Linked DNA regions of Homo sapiens: regions 1 and 2 are each linked to region 3. The links are contacts of gene promoters, found by promoter capture Hi-C in blood cells and fetal thymus (Javierre and others, 2016). All regions are on one chromosome and are shown on one strand. The core of a region is centred on a gene start or on the middle of the fragment in contact, and the rest is flanking DNA. Distances in the headings are between cores, read along the strand shown.

Region 1 (4,090 bases), core at 321-2,820, 94 kb after region 3:
TGCCAGCCCAGTGGGGTCCCCTAGAGCTGTGGCACCTGGGAGGGGAGGGGCAGGGGGACAGTAGCCCCCTTAATCCGCTGAGGTTTGATCTCCTCCCAGGCACCTGAGTCGAATATCTTGGCTGAGCTGGTGGCTTTTGTTTATGGAGTGAGGGACTGTTGTGGAAATAGTCCCCAGCCAGCCCAGGTTGTGGTGGAAAACAGTTGGTTGCTCAGGCAACTTGACAACTTCAGTAGGATGGGAAAAAGGTTTTGTGAGGAAACTGCCACTGTTTTGTCTTCTCCTTTGCTTCCTGGACATAAGCACCATCCCTTATACCTCCAGTGGCACCCAGGCACCCCCAGCCTCTCCAGGGGCAACCCTGTCCTTTAGTATTCAATTTAACTCACAGTTATTGAGTTCTTGCTGTGTGCCCAGCTCTGTGCTAGGCTCTAGGGAATATGGAATGGTGATCAAGCCCAATGGATACAGAGTGTTAAATCTGGAATCGGACCTTCTGGGTTCAAATTTCAGCTTGGCCACTTAGCTGTGTGACCTTGAACAAGTTACTCAACCCTTCTACGCCTCATTTTTCTACTATGAAGTGGAAATAGCAGTAGTAATATGCACCTTGTAGAGCTGTAGGGAGGATGAAGAGAGTTAACATGCAATAAGGCACTTTGAGTAGTGGCTAGCATATAAGGAAGCAGGCAATAAGTGTTATCTATTCTCATTATGACTATTATGACCATTATCTTGCTAAGATGAACCAAACAAATGACATGTTTCTCTGCTGAGAAGCCTCATCTTGGATCTTTTTCACTAGAAGGCAGAATTGGCTTCTTGATGGTGCCTTTTGTGGCAGCCACACCTGATATTTGGGCCTCAGGAGCAGAGATGAATGATGATGTCCTTAGGACTGAGGCTCTGGGACCAATTTGTCCACAAGGGACCTCATTCACCTTCTCTGAAACCTCTTGCCCTCGTCCCTGCCCCACATCTCCCATTGGCTACAGACTTGGCCACAAGTGTTGAGGCAGGAGAGAGAAAAATTAGAAAAGAAAAGGTCTTTTTTGAATCGTATTTTTTCTTTTGATTTTTTTTTGAGACAGAGTCTCACTCTTGCTCAGGCTGGAGTACAGTGGTGTGATCTTGGCTCACTGCAACCTCTGCCTCCTGGTTCAAGTGATTCAAGTGCCTCAGCCTCCCAAGTAGCTGGGATTACAGGCATGCGCCACCACACTGGGCTAATTTTTGTATTTTCAGTAGAGACAGGGTTTTACCATGTTGGCCAGGCTGGTCTCAAACTCCTGACCTCAGATGATCTGCCCGCCTCGGCCTCCCAAAGTGCTGGGATTACAGGCATGAGCCACCAAGCCTGGCCTTTCTTCTGATTTTTAAAGATTAAAAACAATTTTTAAAGGAATGCCCCACCCTTACAGATCTAAGTGATAGGGGTGGGGGTGGCCAAGGCATCATGCCATGCCCAGCCTGCACAGCTCATGGAGTAGCCTTTGGAAGGCAGGGGCTGCCCCCAGCCTCACCCCTGCCGGCAGCTCTGCTGTGTGGGCATGGAAACCAGGTGTCCTGCTTCTCTGGGTGGCAGTGGGGCTTCTTCCTGGCAAAGAGGTTTAGGAGTCCTTTTATCAAATCCTCATGGTTTGGTTTTGTTTTGTTTTTGAGACGGAGTCTTGCTCTGTCACCCAGGCTGGAGTGCAGTGGTACGATCTTGGCTCACTGCAACCTCCACCTCCCAGGTTCAAGCAATTCTCTGCCTCAGCCTCCCGAGTAGCTGGAATTACAGGCACCCACCACCATGCCTGGCTAATTTTTGTATTTTTAGTAGAGACGGTGTTTCACCATTTTGGCCAGGCTGGTCTTGAACTCCTGATCTCGTGATCCACCTGCCTTGGCCTCCCAAAGTGCTGGGATTACAGGCGTGAGCCACTGTGCCCTGCCAAATTCTCGTGTTTTACAGATGTAGAAGAGATGAGTGGTCCAGAGAAGTACCCAAGGTCACACAGCAGCGCATGACAGCATTGTCTGTCTCTCCCCTGCTCCTCCTCCTCCTCCCCTAAGGTCCAGTGGCCTCTTTTCTCCAATGGCTGTGCCCGAGGGTCCTCTTTGCCCTTCCTGGCTGCCTGGGGGTGGGCACAGGTGTGGCTGCCCAGCAGCTCTGGGGGCCTCGGGAATGAGGCTGGCTTTGTTGCAGCCCCGGCAGCTGTGGCCATTTGGGTCGAGTTTCCATTAAGCCTTTTCCGAGCCTTGGGCAGGAGCAGGAGGCTCAGCGTTTAAAGGTCACCCGGCTTTTGAAGCTGCAGCGACATTAATAGCTTGGGAAGAAAACAAGCCTTTGCAGGGGCAGGAGGACAAGGCGTCTCTGTCAGGGCTGCCTGAAACACACACACACACACACACACACATACCCTGAGAGCCTCTGTCTCTTGCTCTCCTCTTCCCTTCCTTTCACCCCCTTTTGGGGCCTCTTCAGCTCTGAAGCCAAGAAGCTCAGGCAGATTTCCCTGCACCCCACCCGCTCTGAGGTGACAATTGGCCGAGAATGCAGCTGCCCCAGCCCAGCAGCCTCTGCCATTACACACTTGAGGTTTCCGCAGGACTCAACCATGGTTACACAAGCCTCCCAGGGTCATATGACCTCATTCTGGCCCCACTGGCTTTTGCAGCCTGGATTCCCAATGAGACAGAGTGAGCCTGGCCTGCGTGTCCTCATACGGGAAATGAGAGCGCTGGCAAGTGGCTTGTCTTGCATGCCAGTTCTAATCACTTGGTCGTGGCTTGCACAGAGGCGGTGTTGCAAAGGGTTCTGAGGTTGTGTGTGTTCTGTAGGACAGTAATACCTGGGTGGATTAGTGATGTCTGCCAAGGATGAGGGCTAGAAGGTGGTGGCACATGTGCCAAAGATTTCCTGCCTAGGATTAAATGATTTGACAACTCTGCGGGTCTTGGGTGCTAAGACCCCTGAGGCAACTGGGTGGTTCTTCTCCCTTTTAATCAGGCCAAGGGTGGGGGTGGGGCACATTCTTGGGTTCTGAGAGAAAAGCCACTCTGGCCCTTTCCCTGGGAGCTGCCAGGGCCTGAGCTCTGGGACACCACCTAGTGGCCTGGCTTGGCAGCGCCACTGGGCTGTGCCAGATCTTAGGCAAGAAGCAAATCCCTCTGCAGGCAGGCATCACGGCAGTCACAGATGGACGTAGGGTCTGCTCCTTGGTGATTTTCAGAGGAGGGAGCCTGGGGTGCACAGAGACAGAGCTGGTCTGAGGAGTCTTACCCTCCTTCCAGAAGAGTGGCCTCTGGGTGGGACACAGGAAGGTGCTGGCAATTGGGACCTGTGGCTTCCTGTTCTAACTCCCACCTTTCAGGGTTGGGCCCTGGTCCTCCTGGGGGGCAGAATGGAAGGTCAAGTCAGATCTAGGAGGGGGTTAGCCTCCTGCCCCCTGGTGCTGGCACTGGCTTGGAAAGGGGCAGCCTGCCATCAGCCTTGTGTCCACGTCACTGGGCTGCCTTGGCCTCAGACCCCTTGTCTGTGAAGTGAGATAATAACGCATTCCCTTATATATCTTCTAGGTTTGTTGTGAGGAGTAAATGAGTGTGTAGGGGAGAGAGGGCTTTGGAAACTGAAAAGGCCCCCTCCCATCATTGCTGTGAGCCGGAGGAGGAAGGAAAGGGAGGGAAATCCACAGTTACAGCACTCCTCCATCTTTCCTTCCCTTCTTTACTCATTCGCCTAATAAATGTCTATTGACCATGCCAGGCACTGATTCGGGCACTGGGGATACCACAGTGAGTATAGCAAAGCCCCTGCCTTCATGGAGCTTACATTCTAGTGGAGAAGATATCAGTGACAAATGTATAATATTCAAGGTGGTCTGTTTCATGAAGAAGACAGGGAAGCCTAAAGGGTTAGGAACACTGGGATGTTGGGGGGTGGACTTGCCACTCTGTTCCCCCTCAAGGTGATGGTTGAGTAGGGACCAGAAGGAAGGGAGCCATGCAGATATGTGGGAGCAGAACGTAGCAGTTGGTGGAAAAAGTAAGTTCAGAGGCCCCTGGGTGGGAGTGTGCTTGGCTCGTTGGTGGACTAGCAAGGATC
Region 2 (3,554 bases), core at 556-3,055, 110 kb after region 3:
TGTATGATGAGGTGGTGAGTACAGCACTCCTGAACTATGTGTGTGAACCACGTGCTGAGCCATGTGTGTGATGTGGAGGTGAATACGGTGCTGCCTGTTTGCCCACACACTGCCAAGGAGATCAGGGTCTAGGGAAGCCGAAGACACGGGGGCAGGGAAGGCTGCCAGGAGAAACTGATGTCCAGGCTGTGACCTGAAGGCCACATTGGCAGTAATGTGGAGAAGCAGAGGACAGGGAGGCGCTCAGGCAAAGGAAGGAGCACTTGCAGAGGCCTGGAGGCAGGAAAGAGGGCTCATCTGGAGACCTCCTGGAAGTACCTAACGGCGGGTGAGGCTGGAAAGGCAAGCAGATCAAAGGCCCTGTGGCCCTCCAGGGAGCTTCCGTCTTCTCTTGCAGACAGCGGGGAGCCATTCAAGGGCCTTAACCTGGAGAGCGACACGATCAGGTTCGTGTTTTAGGAATCTTCCTTTGGCTGCTGAGGGAGATCAGATTTGAGTGGGGGAATGGCCTGGCCCCCATCTGCTACCTCCAGTCACTGGGGTGCCGAGAACCTGCAGATGGGGCAGAGTTTGGGAGCGTGGGTATTGGCCTCCTAGGGCACAGAGAGGCAGGGCCACCCCGGGGAGCATGCTTCAAATGTCACAATCCCTGGGCCCAGGTTTTGCCTGGATGATGTGTGTGTCCTGGGACATGGCTTGAACCCCCTCTGGACCTCAATGTCCAGTTCTTACCAAAAATTTTACCTGGAAGTCCTGAGTCTGAAATCCCTTTCCATCAGGTCTGATGTTCCATGGGTAAACCTGGGGGTCCGATGGGGCTTGAAGTTGCAGTTTTGGGGTCCAGAGGCAGAGGCTCTGGGCTGGGAAATCCTCCCCAGCTTCTCCCTCCTTCCCCTCCCCCAGTCTGTCCTTCCCTCCATCTGTCTGAAAGACAGTCTCTGAAACCCCGGGGACCCTTCCACACAGGCCGCCTGCTGTTTTTCCGTTAAAATTACAGCCTTGGAAGTTTTTTTTTTTATTTGCGTCTCAGCTCATTTCTGACATTCCTTTCCGACCACAATGGAGTTGCCTGGGCTGCCTGTGCCCTGGCTCACGCAGCTGTGGGCTGACCTCATCTCTACCAGTGCCAGCCAAGGGGCCGGGAGGGGGCTGGGCCTGGCCTTCCTTCAGGACCACAGGCCTAGCAGCAAGGAAACTCAGCTGAGAACAGGGGCCTCCTCCACCTTGTGCCCTTCTCCACTTGGAGTCTTCATGGCTAGAGGGGTCCAGGTGCACCTCTGAGGTTCTCCCTCCACTGCTTTCCTGGGTGGCTCCGAGGTGTGGTTAAATTGGGGGTGGGCACCCATGTCCCAGATGAAGACCCTGAGACCTCAAGAACTGGTAATACCCCTGGCGAGGGTCCCTCCCTGCTGTAGCCTGGGGTGGTCTGCGAGTCCCTTAGAGATGAGGCTTCCTCTCTCCCCATCTCTGGCCTTTGGAGAAAAATGAAGCCTCCAACAGTGACAGAAGGTGGCAGTGATGTAGAAAAAAATTTGGCCTAGGAATGGGAGTCCCGGGTTGTGATGCAAGCTGCTCTCCAGACCATTCCCTCTCCCCCTGTGTCTGTGCAGGGAGAGGGTGGACGAGGCGTGCTGGGGTTCCCTTGGCTCCAGTCTGCAAGAGCTGAGCTCCCACCAGGCACTTAGCAGCTGGTTATCCCTTCTGCTGCCGCCCCCGCCCCTTCCCCTCGCCCCCGCCGCCGGCCACCCGCCCGAAATAGAAAAGGAAAGGAAGTTATTTCCATAGTCAGCGGCAGCCCGGAAAAGCTCCCCTCCAGTGAGGGGGCGGGCGGGATTCCTAGAGCTGAAGACCAAATCAAAGCCAGGCCCGAGAGCTAGAGCAGCCCCCACCGCCCGGCCCTCGGCTGCCTTCTCAGTGTGCCGTTTTCCTGATTCAGCGGAACACGTGTCCTGCGGTTGCCACGCTGCAGGCTGCCATGGAGCTGTGGGGACCTCCTGGCCGGGCTCCGAGCTGCCCTCAGGCCCAGGGCGGTAGGGCGGGAGCCTGGGGGTCAGGGAGGGTGTGTGCCACCCCCTCTTCCTCTACTGCCTTGCCCAGCTGTTGGCTCTGCCATGGCACAGAGCTCCTGCCACACACACAACGGGCCTGGAAAGAGCGGCCCCAGAGCACCCTGAGAGCGAGATCCCTTCCACACTCACATCTCCACGCACGTTTTCAGAACATTGCTCAGGACACGGCCTCCTGAGGGGCTCCCCAGCACCTGGGCAGGGAGGCAGCAGTTTCTAGATAAGGAAACCGAGCCCTAGAGGGAACAGGGGCCCACCTAAGACTACCCTGCCGGCTGGTGGTTGAGCCAGAACTGGAGCTCAGATCTGCTTTACCCTCTGTAGGGATCCTGGCGTCCCCATATGCCCCTTCCTCAGCAAACCAGCATGCAGCAGGCTGTGCTGTTGGTGGCTTATGTGTCTGTTCCTTTGGACCATACCTGTCACTCAGCACCATGAGCCTGGCACTGTGTAGGTGCTAGGATAGAAGCATGAAAGGATGCGATCCCTGCTGTCTTTAGGGGACATTTGTAAACATCTATGGCTAAATCCACAGAGTTCCACATGTGCACCGTGGACAGACAGCTCTGTAGGTCCAGAGACCTGGAAGGGCACTGAGTGACTGGAGAGCATGAATGGCTGGGGAGTTCGCTGAGGCTGGTGGAGACATCTCCAGTGATGAGACAGAGTGACGGGCCTTTGTTCTGGAGGCAGTGGAGGCCATGGGAATCTCTGAGCAGGATCCGACCTGCCTGAGGACCTGGTGTGATGGGGCCAGGAGACCTGGGGTTGGGCTTAATGACTTCCTCTTCCCTGTCACCTGCCATCCCCTAGTATCGACGCGCTGGGCTCTGGAGCCCCTACAAGCCAGAGACGCTATCGGAACTGGAACCCACCACTGCTGGGCAACCTTCCGGATGACTTTCTCCGCATCCTGCCCCAGCAGCTGGACAGCATACAGGTAACAGGGGCCGCCCCCGCCTTCCACTCCCACCTGCTTGTCCAGCATCTCTCTTTGCCCACACAATTTGTGCCAGCCAGTTTTACTTCCTGATGTTTAAACCCAGGCTGAGCTATTTCTGTTGCCCTGGGTTCGTAGGGCAGGAATGCTGAACTGAAAGCCTCACTTCCTGCCTGGGCCTGGAGGTTTCCTGTTCTATCCAGGGAAGGTGACAGCCTAAGGAGGCTGTCTGCTGCAGCAGTCACCTCAGGCTGGAGAGAGGCGGGCATGGGGTGGCCAATGGTGGAGGGCCAGAGCACCCCCCTTCCTCCCTTGGGAAAGGGCCAGAGGCTGCTTCTTGCTAGATGTTGGCATGCCCCAAGGTGCCCCACAGCGGGGCAGGTCCACCCTGAGGCTGCTGGTGCAGGGAGAGGGTTGAGTTTGGGAATTGACGTATAGGCTGTTCCACAGTCTGCAGATTTGTTTTCAGGACTGTTCAGGTTGTAGATGAAGGTATGAGGTGGTCTGTGGCGTGGGGGAAAAATAGTTTTTAGGCTACTGCTGTGTCC
Region 3 (3,561 bases), core at 118-2,617:
GGGTATTCTTGTCTAGTGGATGGAAAGGAAACACACTGTCAAATTACTATATCTCCTTGGTTTTCTATTACAGTAGAATTCTCCAGCCATATTTTTATTGTCTATGGGGGAAGTTGGAGATGGTGACCTTGATTAGAAGTGTCTGGAGGGGGATAAATGGAGGGGATAAGATTCAGTTGGTTTTGGAAAATGTTAAAGTCTTAAAATAATGCGTCCATCTGAAGAATTTTTTCTAAAACCAGAGTTTATAAAAATATCACTGATACAGCCTGCCCCCTCATTTCCCTGCCACAGGAGATGTCTTGGACTAGAGACACTTGTTTAATAATAGCTTGTCTCTGATATTCCCAGTAGCTTCCCTCTGTGTGAGGAAAGGATAGAAATGTTCAGGACATCATCATACAGGCTCCTCATCTACAAAGTTCCAGTAGCAGTGACGCCTACACGGAAGACTTGGAACTGCAAACAGGCTGGGGTCACCTCAGTGACATCTGACGCTGTCCAACCAGAAGTTCGATTTTTGTTCTGGGGGTGAAGGAGGAAACAGACTGTACTAAAGGACTAAAATAATTTGTCTATACTATCTCACTTGTTTTTATTTTTGGCGGGAGAGGAGGGGTGTTGGGATAGAATTTCACATCCTATCTTGGAGTGAAGGGGAGGATGGGGAGGCTCAGCCCTTCACCCAAGAATAACCCAGTAATGACATCTCTACGCGTGGGAAGTGTTTCCCTCCACACTGAGAGGATCTGAGGCTGCACCCCAGTGGGATTCCCTGCTTGAGTTGGAAGGCCATCTCGCCATGAGATGCATATCATAGCGAGAGCGCAGAGGGCTTAGCCGGCCGGGGAGGAAATGCCAAAAGGAAGAGAGGCTCGAAGTCGAAAGGGCTTCCCCCAGTTTGGAGGTGGGGACCATGCTGTGCATGAGCGACTGAAGAGCCGAGTGTCCGCCGTGGCCTGTGCCCTCCGCTGAGGGTCTAACAGGGACGCGACGGTGCTGGACACCGTGTCTGAGTCACGGGAGACGGCCCAGCTGTGCCCAGCGGGCCAGCGCCAGACCCTGGCGTCCTCCATCTTCTCTCCTGAGCTCCCCCTGCTCCAGCTGCCTGAGCCACGGACCGCAGCACCACACACCCCCGCGGGGGGGGACGCCGCGCCCCATCCCCGCCCCGGGCCCCACCCCAGCCCCCCCGCGGGGGCCCTGACCCCACCGCCAGCGGGCACTGGCTGAGCTCCGAGGCGGCGAGCCGGCAGCGGGGACGCCCAGAGGGGGTCCGGGCGACTGGGGGCGGCGGCGGCCGGGCCGGGGCTCCCCCCCCGCCCGCGCTCGCCGCCGCGGTGGTGCGTCCCGGAGGTTACCGGAAGTGGCCGCGCTCGGCGCTGCCATGTTGAGGAGCCGCCGCTGCCGTTGCCGCCGCCGCCGCCGCCGCTTTGTTGTCGCCTCCTCCGGCTGAGGAGGCTCCCCGAGCGGGGGGAGTGGGGAGGAGGGGGGTCGGCCGCCGCAGCCATGGAGGCCAACTGGACCGCGTTCCTGTTCCAGGTACTGGGGGCCCCCCCGGGGGGGCACGGGGGGGACAGGGGGGCCGGGCCCCGGGCTGGCGGGCGGGCGGGCGCTCCTCCTCCCCTCCCTCCCGGCTCCGCTCTCCGGCCCGGCCTTAATCCCCCTTTGTTTTTCCGCCCGCCCGCCCCGGCGAAGCGGGGCTGCTGAGGTGAAAGGAGGCGGCCTCACGGGGTGCGGGGGAGATAGCAGGCCGCGGGGTGAACCCGGGGGCCCCCCAGCACACACACGCACACACACACACTCACACACACCCTTCCCTCTCGCTCTGAAGGGGAAGGGAGGAGGCCGGTCGCTGTCACCACCCCGCGGCCCAGAGAAAGGAGGGCGCCGGGCCGCTGGATAGCGCGGGCTGCTGGGCCATTGCGTGCCGGCCCGGTCCCCCACGGTGGGGTGAGGAGGTCCCCAGGTCCTGCCCTGAGTCTCCTCCCCGCCACTTCATCCATCTTTCGCTTGTTCTCTTTTCACCTTCCTCGTCTTTTTGTGTGTGTGCGTGCGTGTGTTGACTTTCTGACCCCCTCCCGTGTCCCCGCGAATAGCGGGTATCCCCAGGTTCCCCGCCACTCCCCCTCACCGCCACCACCCCTCTCGTGTTTACCCAGTTGGGGGGGCGGATGTTGTGAGTGTGTATCCCCTCCCCAAACTTTTTCACTGGATTTACATTTTTTTTTCCCAAGTCTCAGCCGAGCCTTGGCAGCTGACACCTTCTCCCTCTGTCCAGCTCTCCCGCCGTCCCATTCAGCCTGGGGAATCCCCCAGCCGGGCCGGCCCGGGGCAGGCGGGGAGCGGTGGGGGCCGGGACTCCTGGAGGCCCGACCTTCTCCCGAAGCGCTTTTCTTTCTCGCCCACCTCGAACGTTTCCTCCAACCAAGTGGAGAGAGCAAACAAAGTCCGCTTACAAAGCCCCCAGATGAGTCACTCTCTGGGATGTTGGTCTTCGCTTTTTTGCAAGAAACTTGAAAGTGACTGTAGCCGATGTGTTTTGGCAATTCTCTTGCCCGCCCACTTTAGATGGGGGACCCCTGTTTGGCAGATCTAGGCTGGAACTTATTTTTTTCCTACTTCGTTTCTGTTTGCAAAACGAAGCATTCAGTGGGCAGTAGCGATGAGCTCACGGGGAAACTTCGGAACTGGAGGAGGTTAGGAAGCTCGTCACTTTTAAGTGCGTTCTTCCCGCCTCTCTGAGTTATTTTCCTTTGAATACTTCGTGAAATCCCAAACGCGTAGCTGGGGCGCTTGATACCTTTTGAAACTAACAGGAACGGATGCAGAATTTTCAAAAAATTATTCTCCCAGCCACTGGATTCATCCTAGTGGAGTTAATATAGAGAATTGGATAACTCAGAAATTACCTACTGTGTAGACTGGCCTGTTGTTTTAAGACATATTTTTTCAAATGTGGGCAATTTGATCTTTAAGTAGTTATGGAAATATATTTGGGCTTCTTAAAATCTAAAATACCCAACATTATGGAATTCATGAACTTCCCCCTTTTCTCATTCTGATCAGTGTTGTTTTATTGTACTTTGATGAGCTTGCTAATAATGTGATAAACCAACTTGAAAATGCATTGGAAAAGAAATGATATATAACTAGCATGCATCCAGGTTGGTGTAAAGGTGGCAAATACTTTCCCCAGAAAAAAGCTCAAATGGTTATTTTAAAATATGGGATTGATGTGCCACTGAAGTGATTTTCGTGTGATTAAAAACCATATTAAGCATGGTGTCTATAGAGATTGAAAAAAAAAAGTGTTCTTCATGTAAAGGAAAAACCCATAACACATCTTTGGAAAGCTGGTTGAAAAATCTTTTGAAATACTTTTTTAAAGATTATTTTTCTCCTGGGTAAAACAAATGCCAAGCGTTTATTGATCAACTTTTTAATTAGATTTTATATTATTTAATTTTTTTCAGCTATTAAAATCTTTTTTTCCACCTGATGGAGAAGTGTGAAAACAAATATTTAATCCTGGGCTTGGCAATGTGTGCAGTGAAATTT

The links. Contacts are between HindIII fragments. The CHiCAGO score rates a contact against its expected background, and 5 or more counts as called.
Region 1: a fragment that was not itself captured here is called in contact with the fragment with the promoter of VEZF1 in region 3 in 9 of 17 cell types (neutrophils, megakaryocytes, monocytes and 6 more); the score reaches 15.0 in neutrophils.
Region 2: a contact is called between a fragment that was not itself captured here and the fragment with the promoter of VEZF1 in region 3, in 3 of 17 cell types (neutrophils, megakaryocytes and endothelial precursors). The highest score is 7.6, in neutrophils.

What each region holds. Positions count from the first base shown.
Region 1 is chr17:57,891,662-57,895,751 of GRCh38, reverse strand. The region is part of intron 1 of CUEDC1 (CUE domain containing 1); the gene reads left to right. Among named protein-coding and RNA genes, the nearest start is that of CUEDC1-AS1, 18 kb to the left of the region's middle. RefSeq lists enhancers at 2,733-2,782, 2,443-3,184. The HindIII fragment of the contact is 9,384 bases long and covers 1-4,090 here.
Region 2 is chr17:57,873,043-57,876,596 of GRCh38, reverse strand. It overlaps CUEDC1 (CUE domain containing 1), which reads left to right. Exons shown (of 11, transcript NM_001271875.2): 4 at 2,880-3,006. Among named protein-coding and RNA genes, the nearest start is that of MRPS23, 25 kb to the right of the region's middle. RefSeq lists enhancers at 1-267, 268-909, 1,551-2,192, 2,193-2,833. The HindIII fragment of the contact is 8,375 bases long and covers 1-3,554 here.
Region 3 is chr17:57,986,060-57,989,620 of GRCh38, reverse strand. VEZF1 (vascular endothelial zinc finger 1) reads left to right here and starts at 1,367. Exons shown (of 6, transcript NM_007146.3): 1 at 1,367-1,542. The coding sequence starts at 1,510. LOC101929185 (a long non-coding RNA gene) reads right to left here and starts at 1,511. Exons shown (of 1, transcript XR_001752716.3): 1 at 1-1,511. It also overlaps a transcript of SRSF1 not described here. RefSeq lists enhancers at 765-904, 925-974 and silencers at 1,125-1,404, 1,475-1,954, 2,035-2,104. The HindIII fragment of the contact is 4,468 bases long and covers 1-3,561 here.